3 separate regions of the Homo sapiens genome follow, and all the other regions are linked to region 1. Evidence: promoter capture Hi-C in human tissues and cell types (Jung and others, 2019). All regions are on one chromosome and are shown on one strand. Each heading gives the region's core, a stretch centred on a gene start or on the middle of the fragment in contact. The rest is flanking DNA. Distances are from core to core; before and after follow the strand shown.

Region 1 (3,905 bases), core at 767-3,266:
TGGCTGTGGGATTCTAGTTTGCCATCTTAATTTATACATTCTATTTCGGCGCTGATTCTCCAGCCCTTTCCCTTTTAAGTGATCCTAATTAGAAAACACACAGGAGGATCCTTCCAGGATTTAAAAGCTGCTGGGATCCCCTCTTTGATCTCCCATCTGAAATACGGACGGTTATTGTTTCGCGTTTCCCCCCACTCCCCCCGACCCGCACTCCAGTGACAATTATTGGCATTTTAGAGCCTAGAGATAGAAATAAGATGTCTGACAGGCCCGGCTGCCTAAAAATCCAAAGCAAGCACCCCTCCAAACATCTCCCCTCCTCCCTCGCACCGTTCCCCACCCAAAAAAAAATAATGAAAAGGAAAAAATATAGCAGACTCTATAAACAGCTGCCAATTTATTAATAAGATGCTGGAGTTAGTTAGAATTTTAAAGATGCTTCAGGCATCTTTAAGGAGGCAGCAAGCCCTTCCTCTCCCGGGCACAAATAAGCCCAACCAGCAGACCCTACCTTAACTACCGCTATTTAAATTCTGCAAAGTACCGCGGTGACCGGAGGAACCTTCGCAAAGGCGCAAGGGTTTGCCTTAATTTGGTTAATACTTGGTTGAGATGCCTTGCGAGAACTCGAAAGCAGTTGAATTAAGAATCTTAAATCTTTCTAGGACGCGGAGAAGGAAGGTAGGAAATTGGGGAGGGGGAAAGGGAGGCGTGCCGTCAAGAAAGAGTTGATTATTTATTTAATTTCATTCACCAAGGGAGAATTCGGAGGCTCCATCCCGGAGGCACTGGGGTCCGGGACGCGGGAAAGGCTTGGAAATGTGCGACGCGGCTGTGTGCGAACGCGTGGACTAGGTCTTGGCTCGCTGGGAGGGAAGGGCTGGGCCGGCGCTGGGGAGGAGGAAGGGAGGGAACGGGTAGGAGGAGGGGAAGCGCAGTATAAAAGTCCCGGCCGGACTGAGCGTCCGCTACTCCGAGTCACTTCGGTAAGGCGGGAGCCCGAGCAAGGTCAAGGAGGGAAGTGCGCGGTGCCACGGACCGACACAGTTCGCTCTAGCATCTGACGCTCGGACTCCGCGCCCTCAGCCGGATCCCAGAGCCCTTCCATTCGCCAACCGCCCACTGCAAGGCATGAGCCGCACGCGGGAGCCCGAGGCTGCAGCGCGGTCATGAGGCGGTGGCCCGGGATCGACAGCTGCGCGACGCCAGCCCCCAAATCCCCTCTGGGCGCGGCACCCCCGGGATGAGCCCCCCACAGAGGCAAGCCCACTAGAGCTGAGATTCACTCCGAGTTCCTGAGCGCCTGAGCCGCGGGCACTGCGTCTCTGCAGCTTCCAGCCAACACCTGCGCCCGTGACCAGACGAACGCCTAGAGAGTCGGACTCCCCTCCCTTCCCAGGCTCTACGGGGCGCCGCGGATCCGCGAACAGCCGTGCCCGGCTAGCGGGCGGCCCAGCAAGTGTCAAGACCCTTCGGAACGACACTTTGGCACTCCTCCTCTCCCCCGACTGCTTCAGGCAGGGGTCGCAGGCAGACGCATGGCTTGTCCGGCGCCCCCTCCGTTTTCCATCACTGCAACTCCAGCTCCAGTTTGCCAATAAAGGTTTCTAAAGCAGCCCAGGCACCACCCCACCCACCCACAGCCCCGAGCCTCAGTGTGCACAAGGGCTCTACCCGCGCCCGTCACAGCGACCTCGGCAGCGGGCACTTGGTACAGCCCGGCAGGCTGACGCTGCCGCCGAGGGCGCCCCGGCTACCGCCAAACCGTGACAACCTCGGTGTGCCCGGGGCCCCCATCTGGAACCGGCCCTCCCCGGGACTCCGAGTGCGGGGCGGCGCGGCAGGCGGCCCCGAGGAGCGCGGAGAGTAGTGGAGGTGGCTTGCCGGGTGAGTGGCTCGGGGCGGCGAGGGCGGGGGCGCCAAGCGTGGAGGTAACTCCCGGCCGCAGCTGAAGCCCTCCTACTCCTCCTCCTCCTCCTCCTCCTCCTCCTCCTCCTCCTCCTCCTTCTCCTTCTCCTCCTCCTCCTCCCCGCGCTTCTCTGGCGGCCGCTCCCGCTCCAGCTGCGGCGCCGCGGCCACATCTGGGGCGCCCATGTGCGCTCGGGGGCTCGGCTGCGCCCGCCCCGCCGCCGACCCCGCAGCCCCCTGCCAGCAGGGTGGCCTCCGGCCCGGCCCGGGTCCCGGGCTGTCCCGGGACCCAGTCTCCGTCTCCGCCGCCGCCGCCGCCAGGCAGCGCCGGGGCTTGCTCCGCAGCCGGCTTGGACACCCCCGGCCTCGCGGTGGCTCCGCCGTGGTGCGGCGGCGGCGGCGGCGGCGGCGCCGGCAGCTCCTGCTCCCCCGGCCCCGCACACCCCGCCGCGCCCAGCGCCAGCCCCGCGGGCCCGGGAAGCGGAGCCCTGGCGGGAGCCGAGGCGGGAGCCGCGCTGCCGGGCTCCCGGGCTCCTACTCCTCCTCCCCCGGCGTCACCGCCGCCGCCGCCGGCCGCCGCGCCGGGTCCTAAAGCCGCGCGTCTCAAAAGGATGGTGCGCCTGGCGGCCGAGCTGCTGCTGCTGCTGGGGCTGCTGCTGCTCACGCTGCACATCACCGTGCTGCGCGGCTCGGGAGCCGCCGACGGGCCCGACGCGGCCGCGGGCAACGCCAGCCAAGCCCAGCTGCAGGTGAGTGCGCCGCCGGAGAGGGCCGTGCGCGGCTGCGGGGACGGTTTGTGGGGCGGGGGTGCTGAGCTAGTGCCGGGTGGATGCAGGGAGGCAGGTCCCCTGCCCCACCTAAGAGCAACTGTTTTGGCAGTAGTTTTGCCCGGGCCACTTGACTTAGGCAGAGGCGGAGCGGGGGCACGTGCCTGGAGGCTGCACCCGGCTTCCAGGTCTGCGGGCTGCGCTCCTTCAGTTCTGTCTGTCACGGGTCAGGTGCGGGGTTGGTGGGGAGGTGGGAAGGAGCGAGGTTTGGGATGAGCAGAGGAAGTGTGGAGAATGTGCTTGCTTGGGGGTGCTACCAGTCTTTCGTTGCCCTTCGGAGGCTGAGTAATGTTACTCGAGGCTGGAGGGACGCAAGGAGACTTTATAGGATGATATCCCTGAAGTCTTTGGGAGAAAGAACTCCGGGAGTCTACCCCTTTAGGAAGCAATGCCAAAGGTCAGGACATAATTTCCCAAGGAGAATAGCCAGGCATCCCCTCCTCACCCTCAGGGTTCCCTTGCTTCCAGTGTTCCTCTTCCTCCGGGAGCCTCGCCTGAGGTTCCCCCCTCCCCCCTTGTGCCCCCTTGGTCATGGGGAAGGTGCAGAGTGAAGGCACCGGTAGTGATTTGGGCCAGGGTTACCTGGGGCTTTTAAACTTGTAGCAAAGTCTTTCTCCCAAGGATCTTCCCCGTTGAAGGTCGCTTTAGCAATGGGATTCTGTTTATCCATTTCAACTTCAGGGCAAGGAGAGGGCGTAGTGGACGGTCAGACATAATGTGAGTTCTGACTTAGGAATAGAATTGCCCAGCTAGGCATTTCCTGCCGCTATGTTAGCGCCTTTCCTTGAGTCTAGGGGTGGGACAACTGTAAACTTGGAGCATAGGCAAAAGCAAGCAGGGATTTTCCCAGGAGGCAGAGGGGATTCTCTGGCTCCTAAAATCTGCTCAAACCAGGCGCGGTGGCTCACGCCTGTGATCCCAGCACTTTAGCAGGCAGAGGCGGGTGGATCACCTCAGGCCAGGTGTTGGAGACTATCCTGGCCGACATGGTGAAACCCCGTCTCTACTAAAAATACAAAAATTAGCTGGGCGTGGTGGCGCACGCCTGTAGTCCCAGTTACTCGGGAGGCTGAGGCAGGAGAATTGCTTGAACCCGGGAGGTTGTAGTGAGCTGAGATCGCGCCACTGCACTCCAGCCTGGGCGACAGAGCGAGACTCCGTCTCAAAAAA
Region 2 (3,891 bases), core at 193-2,692, 370 kb after region 1:
CCAATCATATACAAACCTTTTCAAAGAATGGGGGAAAAAAAAGTACCCAACTCATTTTTGAAAGCAGCCATAACAGGGTACAGAAACAAATTATCACACAGTCACCTAATTTCCCAACACAATTCTGTGAGGAAAAGACTTCCTTTCAATAGAGGGCAATGGACCATTTGGATATCCATATGAGGAAAAAATAAATAAATGTTGACCCCTATGTTACATATACAAAAATTAATCTGAGCTTGATAAGAAAGCTAAACATGATGGATAAAAACAATAAAATTACAGAAAGAATGAAGATTATCTTCATAACTTTGAACAGGCAAAAACTTAAAATACAAAGAGTTAATCACAAAAGAAAAGGTTGCTAACTTAAACTTCATTAAAATCAGAAACTTCTATTCATCAAAAAACACCATTAAGAGATTGTAAAGGCAAACCATAGACTGGGAGAAGATATCCATAATACATGTATCTTACAAAGGATTTGTATGTAAAATATTTAAAATACTCCAACAAATCAATAAAAGATATAATCAAATAAAAATCTGCAAAAGATGCAAATATGCACTTCTCAACAAGGCTATCTAAATGGTCAAAAAGCATATGAAAAGGCTCTTATAAGTCACTAGGGACACTCAAATTGAATACCACTACACACATAAATCACTAGGGACACTCAATAATACCACTACACACATATCAAAATGGCTGAATTTTAAAAACAATTAACAATACCAAAAATTGGCAAGGATGCAGAGTAACTGAAAAGCTCCTACACTGCTAGTAGGAGTATAAACTGCAACAATTACTTTTGAAAACCGGCAGTATCTATTAAAACAAAATATATATGCATATGTACCTAAAGAAGTACATACGTGGCCAGGCACAGTGGCTCACGCCTATAATCTCAGCACTTTGGGAGGCTGAAGCTGGCAGATCACTTGAGGTCAGGAGTTCAAGACCAGCCTGGCCAACATGGTGAAACCCTGTTTCTACTAAAAATGCAAAAATTAGCCAGGCACTGTGGTGGGTGCCTGTAATCCCAGCTACTTGGGAGGCTGAGGCAGAAGAATCAATTGAACCCAGGAGGCAGAGGTTGCAGTGAGCCGAGATCGCACCACTGCACTCCAGGCTGGGTAACAGAATGAGACTCCGCACCACTGCACTCCAGGCTGGGTAACAGAATGAGACTCCATCTCAAAAAAAAAAAAAAAAAAAAAACAGAAGTACATATGTCTACCAAAAGACATGTAAAATAATATTCACTGAAGCTTTACTCAAAAAAGTAAAAAGCTAGAAATTTCATATGCCCATTAAGAGGAGAGTAAATACAGAAGTTATGGTATATCCATTCAATGAAATACTACTAAGTGGTAAAAAATAAAATACTACTGACACAAAACATGGATCCATCTCACAGGCATAACATTAAGCAAAAGAAAACAGACACAGAAGTGTCTGATCCCACTCATGTAAATTTTAGGAACAGGCAAATTAATCTATGGCACCCAAAGTTAGCATGAGGGAAGAGAGCACAAGAAGTATGGACCAAGGAGAAGCATAAGGGGTCCTTCCAGGATTATGAAAATGTTCTACCTTTTGACATGGAAATGTTTAATGTCTTGATCTAGGTGGTGGCTTATATGGTGTCTACATCTAAAAATTCATGAAGCTGTACACATAAAATACATACTTCATGTATATTTTGCTTTAATAAATGAATTATAAAACATGAGACATATCTTTTATGTACTGATGTGGAAAAAATCTCCAAAAGATTATATTTAAATCTAAAAAGTTTATAATAATTAACACATTTATTTTTTAAGAAAACAAATACAGGCACAAAATAAAACTGTGTTTCTGTTACATAAAAATATAGATAAAAGCACTGGATTTTTACTGGTTAAACCCCACGGGGAAAGGAAATGAGAAAGAAAAGATCTTTTGGAGGATCAAAGGTAAATTTTATTTATATTACCTGAAATTTTTTACAACAAAAAATATAGTGTGTATTTCAAATTGTAAAATTAATATTCTAAATCATGTCTTAAATGTCTTTAATCTCTTCAAGGGATACAGGAGAATGATCAAATTCAAACCAAAAACTACTTATAACTAAGACTGTATGTTTTAAATTCAATAAAAAAAGAACATTTGTTTTAAACACTATTCCAAGCAGAAATGGTGAAAAAGACTGTAATCATCTTTAGAAGGCATGAAATGGTCACGTGCATGATTTTCCAAAGATAGTAGGTCATAATGCCCACATACCACTCAGTGCTCCAACTGCTCCAAAATTTAAGGATTTTCCATCCATTATGCTGGCATCACACTCAATTTCACCTAACAGATTTAGATTAGATCCCATTCCTGCATTTGTAAAAGGAGAATCCTAAAAGACAAAAACAAAAATTAAAATATCATTAGTCTTAAAAAAAGTATTAATGTCAGTCCTTCATGAAATTTTCTAAAAGCTAGAAGGTGAGAGAATACTTTCCAACACATAGTATGATGCCAATACCACCCTGATGTTAAAACATGACAAAGATATCAGCAGCAAAGTACAGATCAATATACTTTGTAAATATTGACCAAAAAAACATCAAAGAAATAGCAGCAAAACAAATCCAGCAAAATATAAAAAGGACTGTATATCACAAACAAGAGGAAAGTAAGATTGGTTTAATATCTGAAAATCAATGTAATACCCTGTATTAATAAAATACAGGGAAAAAAACATGATTGTATCAAAAAAAAAACACAGAAAAAAGGCATCTGACAAAATCCAACACCCTTTCATGAGAAAAACAGAAAACTAGATAAGGGAACTTCTTAACTTGACAAAGGGGATCAATGAAAAGGCCAGGCCAGGCGCAGTGGCTCACACCTGTAATCCCAACACTTAGGGAGGCCAAGGTGGAAGGATCACTTGAGCCTAGCTGTTCAAGACCACTCTGGGCAACACAGTGAGACACCATCTATACAAAAAAATTTAAAACTTAGCCAGGTGTGGTGGTATGCATCTGTGGTGCCAGCTGCTCGGGAGGCTGAGGTTGGAGATCACTGAAGCCTAGGAGATTGAGGCTCCAGCAAACCATAATTACGCCAAAAAAAAAGTCCAGAGTTAACATTATAATTAATGGTGAAAGACTGGATGCCTTCCCCTAAGATCAGGAACAAGACAAGGATATCCACTCTCAGTACCTATTCACCAATATACTGTACAATCTAACCAGACAATTAGACAAAAAGGAGAAAGAAAGAAAGGAAGAAAGGAAGGAAGGAAGGAAGGAAGGAAGGAAGGAAGGAAGGAAGGAAGGAAGGAAGGAAGAGAAAGAAAAGGAAGGAAGGAAGGAAGGAAGGAAGGAAGGTAGGTAGGTAGGTCTAGATTGGAAAAGAAGAAGTAAAATTGTCTGTTTCAAGATAACATGACGCTGTATGTAGAAAATCCTAAAGAATCCACTAAAAAAAAATTAGAATTAATAAGTTTAGGAAGGTTGCAGGATATGAGATTAATGTGCAAAAATCAATTGGATTTTTATATATTAGCGATAAACAATCTAAAAATGAAATCAAGAAAATCTCACAATAACATCAAAAACAAAAAAACAGAAATACATTTTTAAAAGAAGTATAAGACTTGTATGCTAAAAACTGTAAAACACATTGAAAAAATTTTTAATTCAATACCTAAATAGGTGGAAAACATTCTATGTACGTGGACCAGAAGGCTTAATGTTGTTACAATGGCAATACTCCCCAAATCAATCTAATTCAAAATAATCCTTTATCAAATCCTAGCTACTTTTTTTGGCAGAAACTGACAGGCTGATCCTAAAATTCATATGGAAATGCAAGAGACGCAGAATAACCAAAACAATCTTGAAA
Region 3 (3,784 bases), core at 1,027-3,526, 450 kb after region 1:
AAAAGACACTATTATTACCTCCAATTTGCCAGAGAAAGACTCCAGACTTCTTCTTTCTTCCTTTTCTTTTCTCTCTTGTTTCTTTTTGGGTTTGTTGTTATGGATCCTCTAGCGTCAGCCTCCCAAGTAGCTGGGACTGCAGACACACGCCACTGTGCCCGGCTAAATTTTTAAAATTTTTTGTAGATACAGGGACTCCCTATATTGCCCAGGCTGGTCTTGAACTCCTGGCTTCAAGCCCTCCTCCCACCTTGACCCATCAAAGTGTTGGACTTACAGGCATGAGCCATTGTGCTTGGTATCTTGTTTCTCTCCTCTCTCTCTCTCTCTCTCTCTCTCTCTCTCTCTCTCTGGAACTATAGTCTCTAGGCAAAAAAAAAAAATGAAGGCATACCAGATTTCTTATGTTAAAAGATCTTGTCCCTTCTAGAAAGATATGCTAATGTAGATCTAAAGAAGAAAGATTTTTCCAAAATGATGGATTTAATTAACACTATTTCTTTCTTTCTTTTTTTTTTTTTTAAGACAGAGTTTTGCTCTTGTTGCCCAGGCTGGAGCGCAATGGCATGATCTCGGCTCACTGCAACCTCTGCCTCTCAGGTTCAAGTGATTCTCCTGCCTCAGCCTCCCAAGTAGCTGGGATTACAGGCACCAGCCAGCACGCCCGGCTAATTTTTGTATTTTTAGTAGAGATGGGGTTTCACCATGTTGGCCAGGCTGGTCTTGAACACCTAACTTCAGATGATCCACCAGCCTCGGCCTCCCAAAGTGCTGGGATTACAGGTGTGAGGCACTGCACCCGGCCAACACTCTTTCTTGATGTAAGTTGGTATCATTTCATAGAAATGATGAATCATTTTCAGGGAGAAAAAAAAGCTCTCTTAGCTCTAGAGATTTTTAGAACCTTCAAAATAAATGTAAAAGGCTTCTATGTTCATTTCAGATGAGCTGTTTGTACCAGTCAGGGCTCTTGATTGCAAACAACAGAAATGGATTGTGTTTAACTGAACTGGAAAAGAAATTAGTTGGCTGCTCACAGAATTGATGATATGGCTGGAAAATGGGCCACAACCAATGAAGGCTAGACTTGCAAAATTGTAATAAAAATCTTACCCCAGGAAGAGTCTGGTTATGCTGTCATTCCCACTGGATACTTCTTGCTACCACCAAATAAATGAATTCTAACTGTCCCCTCATGTCTGTATCATTTGTTCCAGATTCAAGGTTTTGGGAGAAGACAGCACCTGATTGGTTGAATCAGATCACATGACTGATATTGCTATTGGGAAGGGGAAGGGTCTGAGAGGACTTCCTCCCACCAAAATTTGCGCAATGGTAAATTTTAGAGGTAAAACTAAAAAACGTGTTCATTACTGGGAATATAAAGACAAGAGGCCAGCTATTGTTGAAATAATGCTGTATAACAAGCTAAATACATAAACAGATTTCAGTGGCTTGTAATGACACTTATTTTCCTCAATCATAGGTCTTCAGGCTGGCTGGGGAAGTTCTGCTTCAGGTTGTGAGTTGGCTGGGCTTGGCTCCAGATGGAAGATCCGGTTTACGACTGCTCCAAATGTCTTTCATTCTAGAAAGAGCAGCTACTAAGGGCACACTTATGAAGATGGCAAAAGCACGAGAGGCCACGCCAAACCACACAAGCACACTTACAACCTCTGCTCATATATCTGATGACATTCCGTTGTTTAAAGTGAATTACATGGCCAAGTTCAAAGACAAATGAGATAAGGTATACATTCTGTCTATTCTACTGGTTACTGTGGATTCAATTGCTCTTATTTTTGTAGTTTCCTAAAGTGGAAGCTTGGATGACTGATTTAAGATCCTTCTTTTCAAATATATTCATTTAATGATATAAATTTCCCTCCAAGTACTGCCTTCACTGCGTCCTGAAAACTTTTATAAGTTGTATTTTTGGCCAAGCGTGGTGGCTCATGCGTGTAATCCTAGCACTTTGGGAGGCCGAGGCGGGCGGATCACCTGAGGTCAGGAGTTCGAGACCAGCCTGATCAACATGGATAAACCCCATCTATACTAAAAATACAAAAATTAGCTGGACGTGGTGGCAGGTGCCTGTAATCCCAGATACTCGGGAGGCTGAGGCAGGAGAATCGCTTGAACCCAGGAGGCGGAGGTTGCAGTGAGCTGAGATTGTGCCACTGCACTCCAGCCTGGGTGACTCCATCTCAAAAGAAAAAAAAAAGTTGTATTTTAATTTAGTTCAAAATATTTTAAAATTTCTCTTGAGGATTCCTCTTTGACCTAAAAGTGTGTTATTAAATCTTCAAGTGTTCTTTTATTTTCCTTCGTTTTTTTTCTTTTTTCTTTTTCTTTCTTTTTTTTTCTTTTTTGAGACAGAGTCTTGTTCTGTTGCCCAGGGTGGAGTGCAGTGGCATGATCTCAGCTCACTGCAACCTCTGCCTCCCAGGTTCAAGAGATTCTCCTGCCTCAGCCTCCCGAGTAGCTGAGACTACAGGTGCATGCCACCATGCCTGACTAATTTTTGTATTTTTAGTAGAGACGGTGTTTCACCATGTTGGCCAGGCTGGTCTCAAACTCCTGACCTCAAGTGATCCACTCACCTCGGCCTCCCAAAGTGCTGGGATTACAGGCGTCAGCCACCGTGCCTGAACTTTCCTGTGTTTTTTCAAGTGTTTTTTATATTTTTATGTTTCTGTGTTTTTTTTTAATTTCTGTTTTAATTTCATTGTAGTTTGAGAATAAACATTGCATAATTTATTTTTTTTTACATTTTTTAATGTAAGTTTTATGGCCCAGAATGTGGTTTATCTTGGTGAATGCTCCATTTGAACCTGTAAAAAAATATGTAATCTACAATTGTTGGATAAATTAACCTATAGAGGTCAACTATATCCAGTTCATTGATGGTGCTGTTCAGTTCAACTAAGTCCTTATTGATTTTCTGCCTGTTGAATCTGTTTATTTATGATGGAGGGATGTTGGAGCCTCCAACTGTAATAGTGGATTCATCTATTTCCTTGCTGTTCTATCAGTTTTTGCCTCACATATTTTGATGCTCTGTTATTAGGTTCATACACATTAAGGACTGGTTTGTCTTCTTGGTGTATTCACCTTTTATCATTGTGTAGTACCCCTCTTTATCTTTGATAACTTTCCTTGCTCTGAAATCTGCTCTGTCTGAAATTAATATAGTTATTCCCACTTTTTTTTTTTTTTAGATGGAGTCTTGCTCTGTCGCCAGGCTGGAGTGCAGTGGCATGATCTTGACTCACCGCAACCTCCGCCTTCCGGGTTCAAGTGATTTTCCTGCCTCGGCCTCCCAAGTAGCTGGGACTACAGACGTCCAGCCACCATGCCCAGCTAATTTTTGTAATTTTAGTAGAGCAAGGTTTCACCATGTTGGCCTCCATCTCTTGACCGTGTGATCCACCCACCTCGGCCTCCCAAAGTGCTGGGATTACAGGTGTGAGCCACTGCATCTGGCCTATTCCCATTTTTTATGATTAATGCTAGCATAGCATATCTTTTTCCATCTCTTTACTTTTAATCTATATGTGTCTTTATATTCTAAATGGGTTTCTTGTGGACAACATATACAGGTGTTCCTCAACTTATGATGAGGTTATGTCTTGATAAACCCAGAATAGTTTATCGTAAGTCAAAAATGCATTTAATACATCCAACCTACAAAATCTCATAGCTTAGCCTACCTTAAAAATTAGCCTACAGTTGAGCAAAATAATCTAATACAAAGCCTATTTTATAATAATGTGTGGAATAT

What was found. The method cuts DNA at HindIII sites, captures the fragments that hold promoters and counts their contacts. A contact is called where the count stands out against the background at its distance.
Region 2: a contact is called between a fragment that was not itself captured here and the fragment with the promoter of ISM1 in region 1, in 1 of the 25 tissues and cell types used here (small bowel).
Region 3: a fragment that was not itself captured here is called in contact with the fragment with the promoter of ISM1 in region 1 in 1 of the 25 tissues and cell types used here (dorsolateral prefrontal cortex).

The regions. Positions count from the first base shown.
Region 1 is chr20:13,219,258-13,223,162 of GRCh38, forward strand. It overlaps ISM1 (isthmin 1), which reads left to right and starts at 2,017. Exons shown (of 6, transcript NM_080826.2): 1 at 2,017-2,657. The coding sequence starts at 2,520. It also overlaps a transcript of TASP1 not described here. RefSeq lists silencers at 1,800-1,919, 2,379-2,448. The HindIII fragment of the contact is 10,397 bases long and covers 1-3,905 here.
Region 2 is chr20:13,584,976-13,588,866 of GRCh38, forward strand. It overlaps TASP1 (taspase 1), which reads right to left. Exons shown (of 14, transcript NM_017714.3): 5 at 2,275-2,395. Among named protein-coding and RNA genes, the nearest start is that of TASP1, 52 kb to the right of the region's middle. The HindIII fragment of the contact is 5,249 bases long and covers 1-3,891 here.
Region 3 is chr20:13,664,649-13,668,432 of GRCh38, forward strand. No RefSeq gene overlaps it. Among named protein-coding and RNA genes, the nearest start is that of TASP1, 28 kb to the left of the region's middle. The HindIII fragment of the contact is 7,451 bases long and covers 1-3,784 here.